Regions from separate parts of the Homo sapiens genome. Here regions 1, 3 and 4 are each linked to region 2. Evidence: promoter capture Hi-C in human tissues and cell types (Jung and others, 2019). All regions are on one chromosome and are shown on one strand. The core of a region is centred on a gene start or on the middle of the fragment in contact, and the rest is flanking DNA. Distances in the headings are between cores, read along the strand shown.

Region 1 (2,907 bases), core at 3-2,502, 290 kb after region 2:
TATGTGGGAAAGAGGAGAATGAAGGAGCGAATAGAATACGCCTCTTAAAATGTAGACACCCAATCTGAACATCTGCCCCTCATGCCAGCCAAGACAGCTCCTGAGCCATATTTTTTCATCCCTGATATGCGAAGAAAAAGCTACAAAGCAGGTTGCCTGTTATGCATACATGATGTGAAATGACACCTCAAGGTACAGCTTTCTGTTCTTCAGCAGCTGAGGTTATCACTGACATTTGCCTCTGATTCTCATATCCACAGTTATGAAGATGGAATAAACCAGGGGTTCTGAGAGCTTTAAATGCTGGACAGTACTTCTGCTCCGAAAGCACAACTCTCCTCTGCATCAACTCCTAGCAAGCCCAATAAAATGGATTCTTGGATATACATTTTTTAGGAAGAGAGTAAGATGCAATGTTCTATTAGGAAAGGAAGCTCAGTTCCTTAAGGTCATCTTCAACGCTGGAAATGATTCACATTTGGAACACTGACCTCCCGTGCTTTTTCTGAGGTGTGTTTCAACACCAACAGCAGGCTAAACCAAACATCTGAAATGCAGTGAGAGCTGGATGGTTAGAAGGCTCTGGTTTCAGACCTGGACTAACTGGACACTGAAATCTGGGCTGGAGTACTTATTCCAGAAGCCGATGGAAAAACATCACGTTTTAAAAGTCAAATCCTTGACTCAGGATCATAACATCATCAGCATCGAGCAGGTCTCTGTTATCACCACAGTGATGAAGCCTGAGCTGCGCAGCCGCTAGGGTAAAGAGGGCTCTGTGCTCAGCTCTGTGAAGACAAGGAGGCAGATTCTCAAGAGCTTAGAGCTTTGCACAGCTGCAGAGTGGGCAGGGATGAATGCAGGAGAGGGAGTGGGAAAGCAGCACAGACACGGTAAAAGGAAAAATAATTTAGGCTGATGGAACTCTCAGGTTTCCGACACTCAAACTGCCATGTGAAAAGCAAGTGGTAAGAATTCATATATGATATCAGCAATAAAATAACATCCTGTTGTACAACAAAATACACTGAAAGACAACCTTTAGTCTTTTATAACGACAAGCAGATCTCATAAGTAAATGAAAAGCTAGTCCATTACTCTTTTTATTCCTTAAAACAAAATAAAAAAAGAAAAGCTTTCAGTGACATGATGAAATTACTATCACAACACTCTTGACAATCTCCAAATAGGGAAGGTGTGTTTCTACGCTGAAACAGGAGAAATTGTGCTTGAGGAATCCAATAAGTACAAAGTGACTCAAAGCTCTATCACAGCTGTCAATAAAGAATGAACAGACAAAATTCTTCACAGGCTTAACATGAGAGGCATTGAGCGTTTTGCAAGGCTGAACAACAGACGGGTAGTTTTTGCATGTGCAGTGCTGTCAGAAGTTGTAAAAGTAAACACACGTCTTTTTTTTTTTAAGGTAGTCCATTACAGGTAATTACATATTTAAAGTATAGTCATTTTTCCTGCCTTCCATATTTAACTATTCTTATCTCAGTCATTTTAATACAGAATACTTAATGTAATCGATTTTTATATTTCTAGGGGAAAGGAAACTTCTAGCCCCTTTGCAGGCCAAACCCAATTTGGCTTACCATTCTAGACTTTCGTCCTCCCAGAAGGATTCTGAATCCAACTCTTTAGGAAAATGACTTTGAATGGGTTGTGATTACAAGCAAATGAGATGAAAAGAGTCAACGTTTTGGACTCTTGCTCTCCTTGCTACCTTGTATTTCAGCTGCATAAAGTTCCCTGGTGAGATTTTGCCACCTATGTCATTGATTACATCAATGTGAGCTGCAGGAAGGGTGAGCTAAACTGAGGACTGTCTGCACAAGTGAGATATTCCTCACTCTTCTTCAATTTACCACGAAAACAGGGTAGCTCTGAGCCTCAAAAAAGTGTAGCTCAGACTTCTGGGATTCACATTAACTCATCCAACCATCGAGTTTACATCTCCTGTTCAATCTCTTTCAGAGTTCTTTATCTGAATGAATGGCACCAATATTCATCTTGTTTTTTATCCTTCCCATCTTTCTCCTCTACCATCCATTTTTAGTTATTCATATCTTATTATCTTTTGGTGGTGACTATAAAGATTAGGGCATGCACTCTTCTTGACTATTTAAACTCTAACATGAATTAAGATTTTTACCACTATCTTAATGTTACATTAACTCCATTTATTCCCTTATGTTTTTTGAATTGTTGTCATGCATTTTAATTCTATATATTCCTATATATTTTAGATCCCAAGGCTTTATCATTTTGTACAGTCAATGTTCATTTATATTTATCACTTATGTTGCTCTTCATTTCTTACTGTATTTCTGTGTTTCTGATAGGATTACTTTTATTTTCCCTGAAGAACTCCATTAGAATATTTTTAGTGAAGGTGTGCTAGTAACAAACTCTTTCAGTTTTTATCTAAAAATGTTATCTATTCACATTCACTTTATTTTTCATTTTATTTTATTTATTTATTTATTTATTTATTTTTTTTTTTTTTTTTTTTTTTTTTTTTTTTTTTTGAGATGGAGTCTCACACTTTCACCCAGCTGGAGTGCAGTGGCACAATCTCAGCTCACTGCAAACTCTGCCTCCCGGTTTCACGCCATTCTCCTGCCTCAGCTCACATTTACTTTTAAAAGACATATTCACAAAGCACATAAATCTAGGTTGGTCTTTCAGCACTTTAAAGCTTTTATTCTACTGTGATCTAACTTCCATCATATTCATTTAGAAGTCAGCTGTCTGTCTTATATTTCTACCTTGAGAGCATGTGTCCTATTTTTCTCTCTGGATGCTTTCAAGGGTTATCTCTTTGTCATTTGTTTTTGCAAGCTTACTTTGAATTTATCCATATTGAGAATCACAGTGCTTCTTGAATATGGTGCTGAA
Region 2 (3,194 bases), core at 177-2,676:
CCCTGCCGGGAATCCCGAGGACGCCGCAGGCGCAGGAAAGTTAAATCCCAACTCCGGCCGCGGCATCCTGGTACAAAGCAAGCAAAGGGCGAGGAGGTGAACGCGCTTCCCGCCAAAGCCAGGGGAACAGGGATGTGACCGCTCCAAGCCAGGCACCGGCCGCCGCGGGGAGCGAGCCGGGGGAATCACTCCTCCACGACCGTTCCCACGCACATCTTGGGAGAAACCATTCCCTCTGGAGCCCGATCTGCCCGAAACCCTGGGGTCTGAAACCCTGAGCCGCGGTGTGCAAAATCCGTGGAGCAGCGGAGGGATGCCTGGTGAAAGGGGCTCGCCTAGCTGCAGCGCACCTGGCTGGTGGTTCCCCAGGCCTCTGCATCCCCCGCCTTAGTGTCTTTCATTAACCAAGGCGCTTGGCGGAGTTGAGCCCAAGTCCCATTGCCTCCCGGTTCCCCTGTAAGGAAAGCAGGAAAACCTGCCCAAGCCGGTGGGGCTGCGAGGTGGCCGCTCCCGAACCGCCAAGTCCCGACCTCCGTGTCCCCTGCCCCCGGCTCGCGGCAGTGCGAGCCTGGAGGCGCGCCGGGGGCGGGCACAGACCAGTGTGCGCACCTTTCCGGGTGTTGGGCAGGGGTCCCGTCTCGCCCACCGCGACACTCCGGCTCCTTACCTCTCCATGCTCAGACCTCGGCACAGGCGGGTACACAAACTTCCAGCCCGTGCACTAGCTCAACTGTGGGCGCCCCCGGACTGACGGTCGTCCTAATCCTGTACGCGCAACCCCCGCCCAGGTGCCTGCTGATGGATCCCACCCGAGATCGGCACCACCCACCAGCCGACCGCTGCAGTCCCCGGGTCCCGGCCAGCGGCGCGGCGCGGCGCGGCGCGGTCAGGGGCTCCTGCCAAGGCCACGCAGGAATCGGGCGGGGGTCGCTCACCAGGTGCGAGGAGCGCTGGTGCCAGTCATCCAGCGCCTGGGGGCCAGAGCGGCTCCGAGGATCCTCTTCAGCACCTGGCTAGGGAAGTGGAGGCAGCAGCTGCAGCCGCCCCCTGCCACTTCCCCAGAGCCGCCCCCTACTCGCTGAGTTCCAGAATGGGGGCACCGGCTTGGGGGCCACGAGCACGGTCCCCGAGCGCGCGGCCAACCGGTGGGTGGGCAGGTTCGCGCCCAGCAGAGACGACCCTCGAGGTGGCAAAGTTGGGTGTCCAAGCCAGCTCCGCGGGGCAGTCCTGGGTGGGAGAAGGGAGCGTCCCGGGATGAGCGACACTGGCCGGGCCGCCCCTGCACGGGGAAGGTGGAGGGCCGGGGCTGCAGCGGGCCAAGGGCCGCGGCTGGCCTGAGGCTGCGAAGCCCACCCGCGGCGGGAAAGCAGCGCTCGGGAGCGGGCTCAGGGAGAGCAGCCGCCACCGGCGCCGCCTTCCCGGCAAGTAGATCGGCGCGGGGCGAGCGGGCGCGGAGAGCGCGGGGCGGAGAGCGCTGGGCGGGGAGCGGGGGACAGCCTGGGCCCACCCCCGCCCCGCCCCGCCCCTGCCCCGCCCCCGCCGCCGCGCCGCCTCCTCCTCCTCCTCCTCCCCGCCGGGGTGAAACTCGAGCGCCCCACCCGCGCCTGACCTCCCCGAGCCCCTCCCCGGGCCCCGCCCCTTCCCGGTACAGGACCCCCACCTTCGCTCCTGGGAGCCCCGCTGCACCCCAGGAGTTCCATTCCAGCCTCCCCAGTGCGAGTGCGGCCGAGCGCTGACTTTTGGGGGCTCCCTCCCCCGTCTCACTGGGTCCCTCTGCGGCTCCCCCGCCCGCTGTCCCGGTTCAGACGTGGCTGCACCCCGGAGGGGGGCGCCGGCCGAGACCTGAGACGTGGCGCTCCCTCTCTGCCGGCCTCGGCTTCAGGTACGTGCGGTTCCCTCGGCTAAATCTGGCCCGGGGGATGGGGGGCAGGGGCCGTCTGGTCCTCCGGAACTCGAACTTTGTGATTTTGTTCTTTCTGTGTGACATCCTCATCCGTTCTGAGGGAGAAACTCCTTAAAGAAGACGAGAGAGTCAGTCGTTGCGGGTTCTTGGAGGAGCACTTTGGGGGTGAGACTCCCGGCTAGTTCGGGTCGATTTCAGCGGGATTAAGTCAAGGAAATGAACAAATCTGACGAATCAGGGAGGCCAGAGAAGGCGTCCCCAGGTAGCCACGCTGAGCGTTAAGAGAGAAGTCCCGTATGGTCAAAGTCATTCGTCCAATTCTGTGTCAATTATTCCTTGTTGCACTTTTGCAGGATCCTTGGGCCTTACTAAGTACTCAGGTGAAAAGTTGATAATTGGGAAGCAAGTAAAGTACCTTTGAAGACGTGTATAATTGGACACTTTGTTGCAGTTCTTCAGTTTCTGGAGGAGGCGGTGGGGGGGGAGAGGGAGGGGGTCAGCCTCGCGAAAAGAGCAAATGGTAAAGTTATAGGAGTATAAGGCATAAAACTTGGGTTGGGAGTCCTGACTGGCCTTGAGTGGCCCTTTCCCACTGGATGGGGGTGCGGGACAGTATCTCTGGGCCCTTTTTACTCAGTCTGCGCCTCAGAGGGAGGCTTGAAGGTCCCCTGCATGAGGAAATGTGTGAATTGCCCCCTCCTGACCGCAGTGAGGTAGGGACCCCCGCAAGGACCCACGTTCACACCAGCGCCCTTCCAGCCAGTGGTGGGGTATGGATGGGCCTCGCTGGTCCTGGGCATGGTCCGGTGCGTCCATAAGGGTTCCATTGAGCTCATCCATAAAACAAAGAAGCTATTGCAGGCTGCAGGGTGTCATAGCTCGCACAGTAGCCATGCAGACCTAAGAGGACAATGGAAATACAAATTGCTATCGATGTGTCTTTATTTTCTAGAACTTTTTTTTAAAATAAAAGAATTAAGTGAAAGCAATTCCGAAGGTTTCTATGAAAGCCCAGCCCATCCCCAAATGCCCAGTCTCTGGCACGGGTGATCTGGCTGTCTTGGGTACTCAGGCCTTACTGGGATTTCCTTTAAGACCTCTGGGAGGAAGTGTCAGTAGCTGGGCAGGCCTTCTTGGCAAGCATTCCTCCCTGGGTTGTGGCGGGGGCTCCCGGCCTGCTGTGTGGCAGCTGCAGGCTCCTGGGGACCTGAAGGAAAAGCTTAACCGTTCTCCCTTCCCTTGCTTGGCACTTAGAGCACTAGTTCCATTCCAGACATTCCGATTATCTTGC
Region 3 (3,016 bases), core at 517-3,016, 280 kb before region 2:
AATGATGACAATTTCCAGATCAAGAGCTAGGAAGGCATACAACATTTACATCGTACAATTACCTTCTGGATGCTAAGGACAAAACACATTTTTGTTTCTCCAGGTTGCAAGATCTATAGGCTGATAGAAATGCATCCCTCTGCAACAACACACAGCACATGTGGTGGGGGAATGAACTGAGAGAAAATCCGCGGGATGGAGACTGGGAGCCTCATGCCTCTAATTTGTCATCACGCTGAATCATCCAACATCCTCACCTACAACAAATTACTGAGACTAGCACCCTGCTTACTCCCTTCCCCAGCTCTGTGAGAGACACCTTGGCGCCAGATGGCAGGCAGGAGATGGCCAGGCAGATAATACAGGATCTCCTGTAGGCATGGAAGCAGTAGAAATAGATATTAATAATAATCACCTATTGTGTTGGAGCTGTGACTTGTATCTGACTCAGTAGAAAGACAATGGAGATGGCTATGGAATTCCTAAAAAGTACAAGAACAGTATTTGTGTTCTGGCTTGGTTTTGATTAGCTATGCAACCTTGAGCAAATGGCCTCACCTGTCTAAGTTAGCGTACTCACTTGAAAATATGGGGAGAAAATAATAAATGCCCTAATTACCAAAAAATGGTGAGGTAGAGCTTGAAGGAGATAATGTTCATGAAAATATTCTTGTTAACACTAAAATAGAATAGAAACATTGTAATTACAACTGCTGTTGTAAGAGTAGCAAAAGAGACATAAAATATAAAATGTAAGATTATACATGGTGGTGACCTTAAGGCTTCTATAAATTTTTATAAAATATCTATTTATATTCTCTATGTCTATATACATAGTATGAAATGTAATAAATCTGCATATGCAAAACATAAGAATTAGTTCTAACACTCACTTCTGAGTTAGGAAGCCAGTGTTATTAAATTCCGTATGACAATGAACTCCATCCAGTCCCCTTTTTACAGCTGCACAGAGAAGACTTAGTAGAGTAGGCCTGAGACTGTCATCCTAGAAGGGCCTGCTTGCAAAATTGGCCCCTTAGCTGGTTTCTGGGAGCTCAGATATCAGGAGGGTTTCCACAATTCCCTGTTAAAAACGGCTCACTGTGCCTCAATTATTAATACATGCAAGGTGGTTTACGCAAGCATCTGCTTTCCTTCCAGGAGTCTGCAATTTTAATACATTCCAGGCAGAGAGGTCCTGTGTGATCTGCCCGCAGGAGAAACCCAGGGCATTGAGCCTCTCTGGTAGACAACACTCTCCTCGTGTTGTCACAATTTGCTGATGGAAGGATTAAGTGCATCCAGTGTGATTCCACTGGAAGAAGACTCTTGGAAGATCACACCTTGTTTTCTTCATGATCTATCCATGCACCTCTTGTCTTTGCTAATTTTTTTTTCCTTCACTGTAATAAATCACAGCCATGCATGACTACATATTGAGTCCTTGAGTCCCGGAGAATTATTGAACCTGGGGTGATCTACGAGAACCTCAATTCAATAGCATTACAAATCTATATGGAAATGACAATTTTCAGAGATAGATGACCCAAAACTTGAGCAAGTCCCATAGGAAACAATAACAACTCTTTCTAGATTCTGGCCAGAAAAGGAAGTATGAAAGGTACTGAGAGCGGGGGAAAGTCGAGTCTGGTTGGAAACACAGCATTCACTTTGGGAGCACATTCTCAGGTTGCCTGAGAACTGACTAGAGATGCTTCCAATATACCTAGAAAGCAGCAGCCCAGATTTGGCATACTCTGATGTTGGGGCAGCGGGTGGGGGCAGGGGGAGGAGGGTTTCCCCAGGACAAGGTTAAGGAGCTTTGCTTTACCTGGAACTTCTGGTCAAAAAAGAAAAAAAAATAGATTAAATATAAGCCATAATGTTATTGAGATCTAAGAGGCAGACTTCTCCAATGTACATCAGAGTAGCAAACTACAGCCTGTGGGTCAAATCCAGCCCATTGCCTATTTTCTGATCACTTGCTTGCTAAAAATAGGTTTTATATTTTCACATATTGAAGAAAGAATTTGTGAATGTTTGCTTTCTCCTTTTTAACATAAGGAACTTGATACGGTTTTGTTCTCTGTCCCCACCCAAATCTCACGTTAAATTGTAACCTCCACATATCGGGGAGGGGCCTGGTGGGAGGTCTTTGGATCATAGTGACAGATTTCCCCCATGCTGTTCTCCTGATAGTGACTGAATTCTCATGAGATCTGATGGTTTAAAAGCATGTGGCACTCCCCCGTTTACTTGCTCTCTCTTCTGCTCCTCCATGGTAAAACGTGCTTGCTTACCCTTTGCCTTCCACCATAATTGTAAGTTTCCTGAGGCCTCCAGGCCATGCTTCCTGTTAAGCCTGTGAAACTGTGAGTCCATTAAATCTCTTTTCTTCATAAATTACCCATTCTCAGGTAGTTCTTTATAGCACTATGAGAATGAACTAATAAAGAAAATTGGTAACAGGAGTGAGGTACGGCTATAAACATAACTGAAAATGTGAAAGCGACTTTGGAACTGAGTAACAGTTAGGGGCTAGAACAGTTTGGAGGGCACAGAAGAAGATAGGAAAATGTGGAAAAATTTAGAACTTGCTAGAGACTTACTGAATGGTTTTTGACCAAAAGGCTGATAGTAATAAAAACAAAGAAGGGGACTGCTGGCAAGATGGCAGAATAGGAACTGCAGCTCCCAGCAAGATCAATGCAGAAGGTGGGTGATTTCTGCTTTCCCAACTGAGGTACCTAGTGCATCTCATTGGGACTTGTTGGACAGTGGGTGCAACCCAAGGAGGGCAAGCCAAAGCAGGGTGGGGCATCACTTCACCCGGGAAGCACAATGGGTCAGGGAACTCCCTCTAGCCAAGGGAAGCCATTAGGGATTGTACCATGCACTCCGGCCCAGATACTGCACTTTTCTCACGCTCTTCACAACCCACAGACCAGGAGATTCCCTCCAGTGCCCACACTACCAGGACCCTGGGGTTCCAGCACAAAACTGGGCGGCTGTTTGA
Region 4 (3,194 bases), core at 158-2,657, 260 kb before region 2:
CATCCATATTCATATACTTATTGTCTATAGCCGGCTTTGTACCATCATGGCAGAGTTGATGAGCCATACCAGAGATCACGTGGCCTGCAAAGTCTCTGCATTTACTATCTGGCCCTGTACAGAAAATGTTTGCAAAGTCTTGCTCTAGCCAATTATGGCAAAGTAACTTAAAAATTATTTCCCTCAAGCCCTAATTTTTAAAAAATAAAATGTCATCATGTTCAACCAAACTCAATAGATTCTGAATATCCTTCCAGATATTCTGAATATTCTGAATACCAGAATAGTAGATTCTGAATATTGCTGTCTTCAAAAACACTTATGGATTAAGAGGATAAGCAAGCAAATGTATAAGATAAATGTAAAAGAGACACATGACATATCTAAAATAGAATTAAAAGCACTTCACAAAACTGGGAAAATATTAAAATATGTTTTAGGATACTTTATGAATCAAGGGTTCTATAGGAATTACGTGACACCATCACATAAGATAATTTGAAGAAGGCTTGACAAGACAACTATCAACAAAGACACAGGTGTGGAAGAGGCAAACACAAGAGTTCCCAGTGGCTACTAAGGGGCCCAAAGGAATGCTGGGGGATAAAGGGTCATAAAGGGAGAGCCAGGTGGGTGTGGCTGCTGCGGTGTGAGGCCAGGGCCACAGCCAGTCCCAGGTAACCCAGTGGCAGCCAGTGGTGGGAATCGCAGCTCGGACTTCCCTCCCCTTTCTCCCACAGGCCTTCCAAGGACCTTTTCCATGGCCCTATCCAGCTGGCCGCGAGAGGGCACAGGGGCATGACAGCAGTCATAGAAGCTTCCCAGTACAGAGGCAGAAACAGACGCTGGGAGGGGCAAGAGAAAATAGCCAGCAGGAGTTCACTTTCTTTCGAAGATGATAAAACAGGAGAAAATAAATGTGAAACTGTTCTCTACAGTGTTTATATTTCTAGCCAAGAACACTCTCATGAATGAAATTCATTTTCTAAAATTAGGGCAATGCTAAGAATAAGTCTTTTCTCCAACATTAAAATAAAAATAAATTTACCAAAAAATGGTTGCATAATGAAGTGGCTGGAACCAAAATGTAGTCTTGGTAAGATTAAGCCCACAGTAGCTAATGTACAAGTTGTAAACTATATCTCATTCATATCATGTTGATATTTGAAAGAAGTAGAAATGAGGACACACAAAAAAAAGGAAAGCATTTTTACCTCATCCTTCAAACAAAAACAAAAGTATTTTTTCTCCCAAAATGATTTTTAAATTAAATGCTTCTTTTGTCAGAAAGTGAATCCTAGCGTAGTGACATTGCCATTGATGGTTTAAGCCTATTAGAGACCTGTGTTGCTCACGAAACATGTTGAATAGGACTCTAACAGTATTTTCACAAATGTTTTTCTCCCACATCCTCATCAATGAGATCTGGCATTTACTTCCAATCAGTGTATATGTCTTCATTTATATATTATAAACACATACAGCTGTGCATGTATATAAGTATATTTTAAATACAGTATACACATCTGAAAATAATGACATCAAGATAAAATGATTGATATTATAAAGTAAATATTATGTTATAGTCTGATTTAACAAAACTTTTTAAACTTAGTGCAATAATTTATGATAGAATGAATTAAAATTCTGTTTTCTACATTCAATTTATATTAATTTTTAGTTTAAAAACTTCTATAACTGAAGTGGACAACTCAAACAGATATATAAATCCAATTTCTTGGGAGGCTGAGGCAGATCGCGAGGTCAGGAGATTGAGAACATCCTGGCTGACACGGTGAAACCCCGTCTCTACAAAAAATACAAAAAATTAGCCAGGCGTGGTGGCACGTGCCGGTAGTCCCAGCAATTCAGGAGGCTGAGGCAGGAGAATCACTTGAACCCAGGAGGTGGAGGTTACAGTGAGACGAGATTGCGCCACTGCATTCCAGCCTGGGTGACAGAGCAAGACTGTCTCAAAAATAAAAAAAAAAAAATCCAATTACATCATTGGCTGTTTTTAATAAATTTTGATATACTACTTTTTCAACTTCATCTGCCAATTAGACAATGTTTTTTGTTGAAATTTGCCAAGCACATTTTCATCTTCACTGATGTCAATATCTTGTGCTCAAAAATTTATCAGAAAGATTAAAAAATGAGCTTAAAGTCCACTGAAACTTCCCTTTTGGGAGTTTTAAAAAAGGGTTAAAAGTACACATAAGACATTTCAAAAGTGAATTTTCTAAATTTATATATTTAAAAATCAGGTAAGATTGTTATTATAGTGATTGTTGAGCATCATCATTAACAACCAATTCACATAAGGACAGAAATCTTCTGAGGTATCTGATTTAAAAATTACTTTTAATTTTTTTATTTCAATAGGTTTTTTGGAAACAGGTGGTGTTTGGTTATATGAATAAGTTTTTTCGTGGTGATTTCTGAGATTTTGGGGGCACCTATCACCCAAGCAGGCTACACTGTACCCAATGTGTAGTCTTTTATCCCTCACCCCCTCCCACCCTTTCCTCTTAGTCCTCAAAGTCCATTGTATCGTTCTTATGCCTTTGAATAATTATAGTTAAGCACTCCCATTATGAGTGAGAACATATGATGTTTGGTTTTCCATTCCTGAGTTACTTCACTTAGAATAATGGTTTCCAGGTCCATGCAGCTTGCTGTAAATGCCATTATTTCATTCATTTTTATGATATACATATATATACACTACATTTTCTTTATCTACTTGTTGACTGATGGGCATTTGGATTGGTTCAATATTTTTGCAGTTGAGTATTGTGCTGCTATATTGCATGAGTTTCTTTTGGAAAGCAATTACGGTCTCATTAATTGTGAAACAAGACAATTTCTTTTCTACAGGTACCTACTATTCATCATACTATTAAAAATAACAGGAAGTTCAGCAAATTTAGATCCCTTATATCTTAAAAAAGGAGAAATAGGTACATAGAGATGATAGCGCTAGATATACAGAAACATTGATATATGTGTATATACATACACATCCATTGACGTTAAGCTTCACAATTTTTCAATATCTTAAATTAATGACAGCTCTTTAAATATGTTGCCACTAGGTATCCAGAGACCCTCCCTATAAAACAGAAAATAATGGTTCTTTCCCACCTCATTTCAAAACATTATAAATACTCTCCCATGTTAAATAACATAAC

The links. The method cuts DNA at HindIII sites, captures the fragments that hold promoters and counts their contacts. A contact is called where the count stands out against the background at its distance.
Region 1: a contact is called between a fragment that was not itself captured here and the fragment with the promoter of SEMA5A in region 2, in 1 of the 25 tissues and cell types used here (H1 embryonic stem cells).
Region 3: a fragment that was not itself captured here is called in contact with the fragment with the promoter of SEMA5A in region 2 in 1 of the 25 tissues and cell types used here (mesenchymal stem cells).
Region 4: a contact is called between a fragment that was not itself captured here and the fragment with the promoter of SEMA5A in region 2, in 1 of the 25 tissues and cell types used here (hippocampus).

Annotation. Positions count from the first base shown.
Region 1 is chr5:9,838,357-9,841,263 of GRCh38, forward strand. The region is part of intron 4 of LINC02112 (long intergenic non-protein coding RNA 2112); the gene reads right to left. It also overlaps a transcript of TAS2R1 not described here. Among named protein-coding and RNA genes, the nearest start is that of LINC02221, 15 kb to the right of the region's middle. The HindIII fragment of the contact is 3,052 bases long and covers 1-2,778 here.
Region 2 is chr5:9,544,649-9,547,842 of GRCh38, forward strand. SEMA5A (semaphorin 5A) reads right to left here and starts at 1,427. Exons shown (of 23, transcript NM_003966.3): 1 at 936-1,427. SNHG18 (small nucleolar RNA host gene 18) reads left to right here and starts at 1,552. Exons shown (of 3, transcript NR_045196.2): 1 at 1,552-1,882. RefSeq lists a silencer at 1,361-1,550. The HindIII fragment of the contact is 8,719 bases long and covers 1-3,194 here.
Region 3 is chr5:9,268,928-9,271,943 of GRCh38, forward strand. All of the region lies in intron 5 of SEMA5A (semaphorin 5A), which reads right to left. Among named protein-coding and RNA genes, the nearest start is that of MIR4636, 220 kb to the left of the region's middle. The HindIII fragment of the contact is 5,003 bases long and covers 1-3,016 here.
Region 4 is chr5:9,287,688-9,290,881 of GRCh38, forward strand. All of the region lies in intron 5 of SEMA5A (semaphorin 5A), which reads right to left. Among named protein-coding and RNA genes, the nearest start is that of SEMA5A-AS1, 220 kb to the right of the region's middle. The HindIII fragment of the contact is 3,986 bases long and covers 1-3,194 here.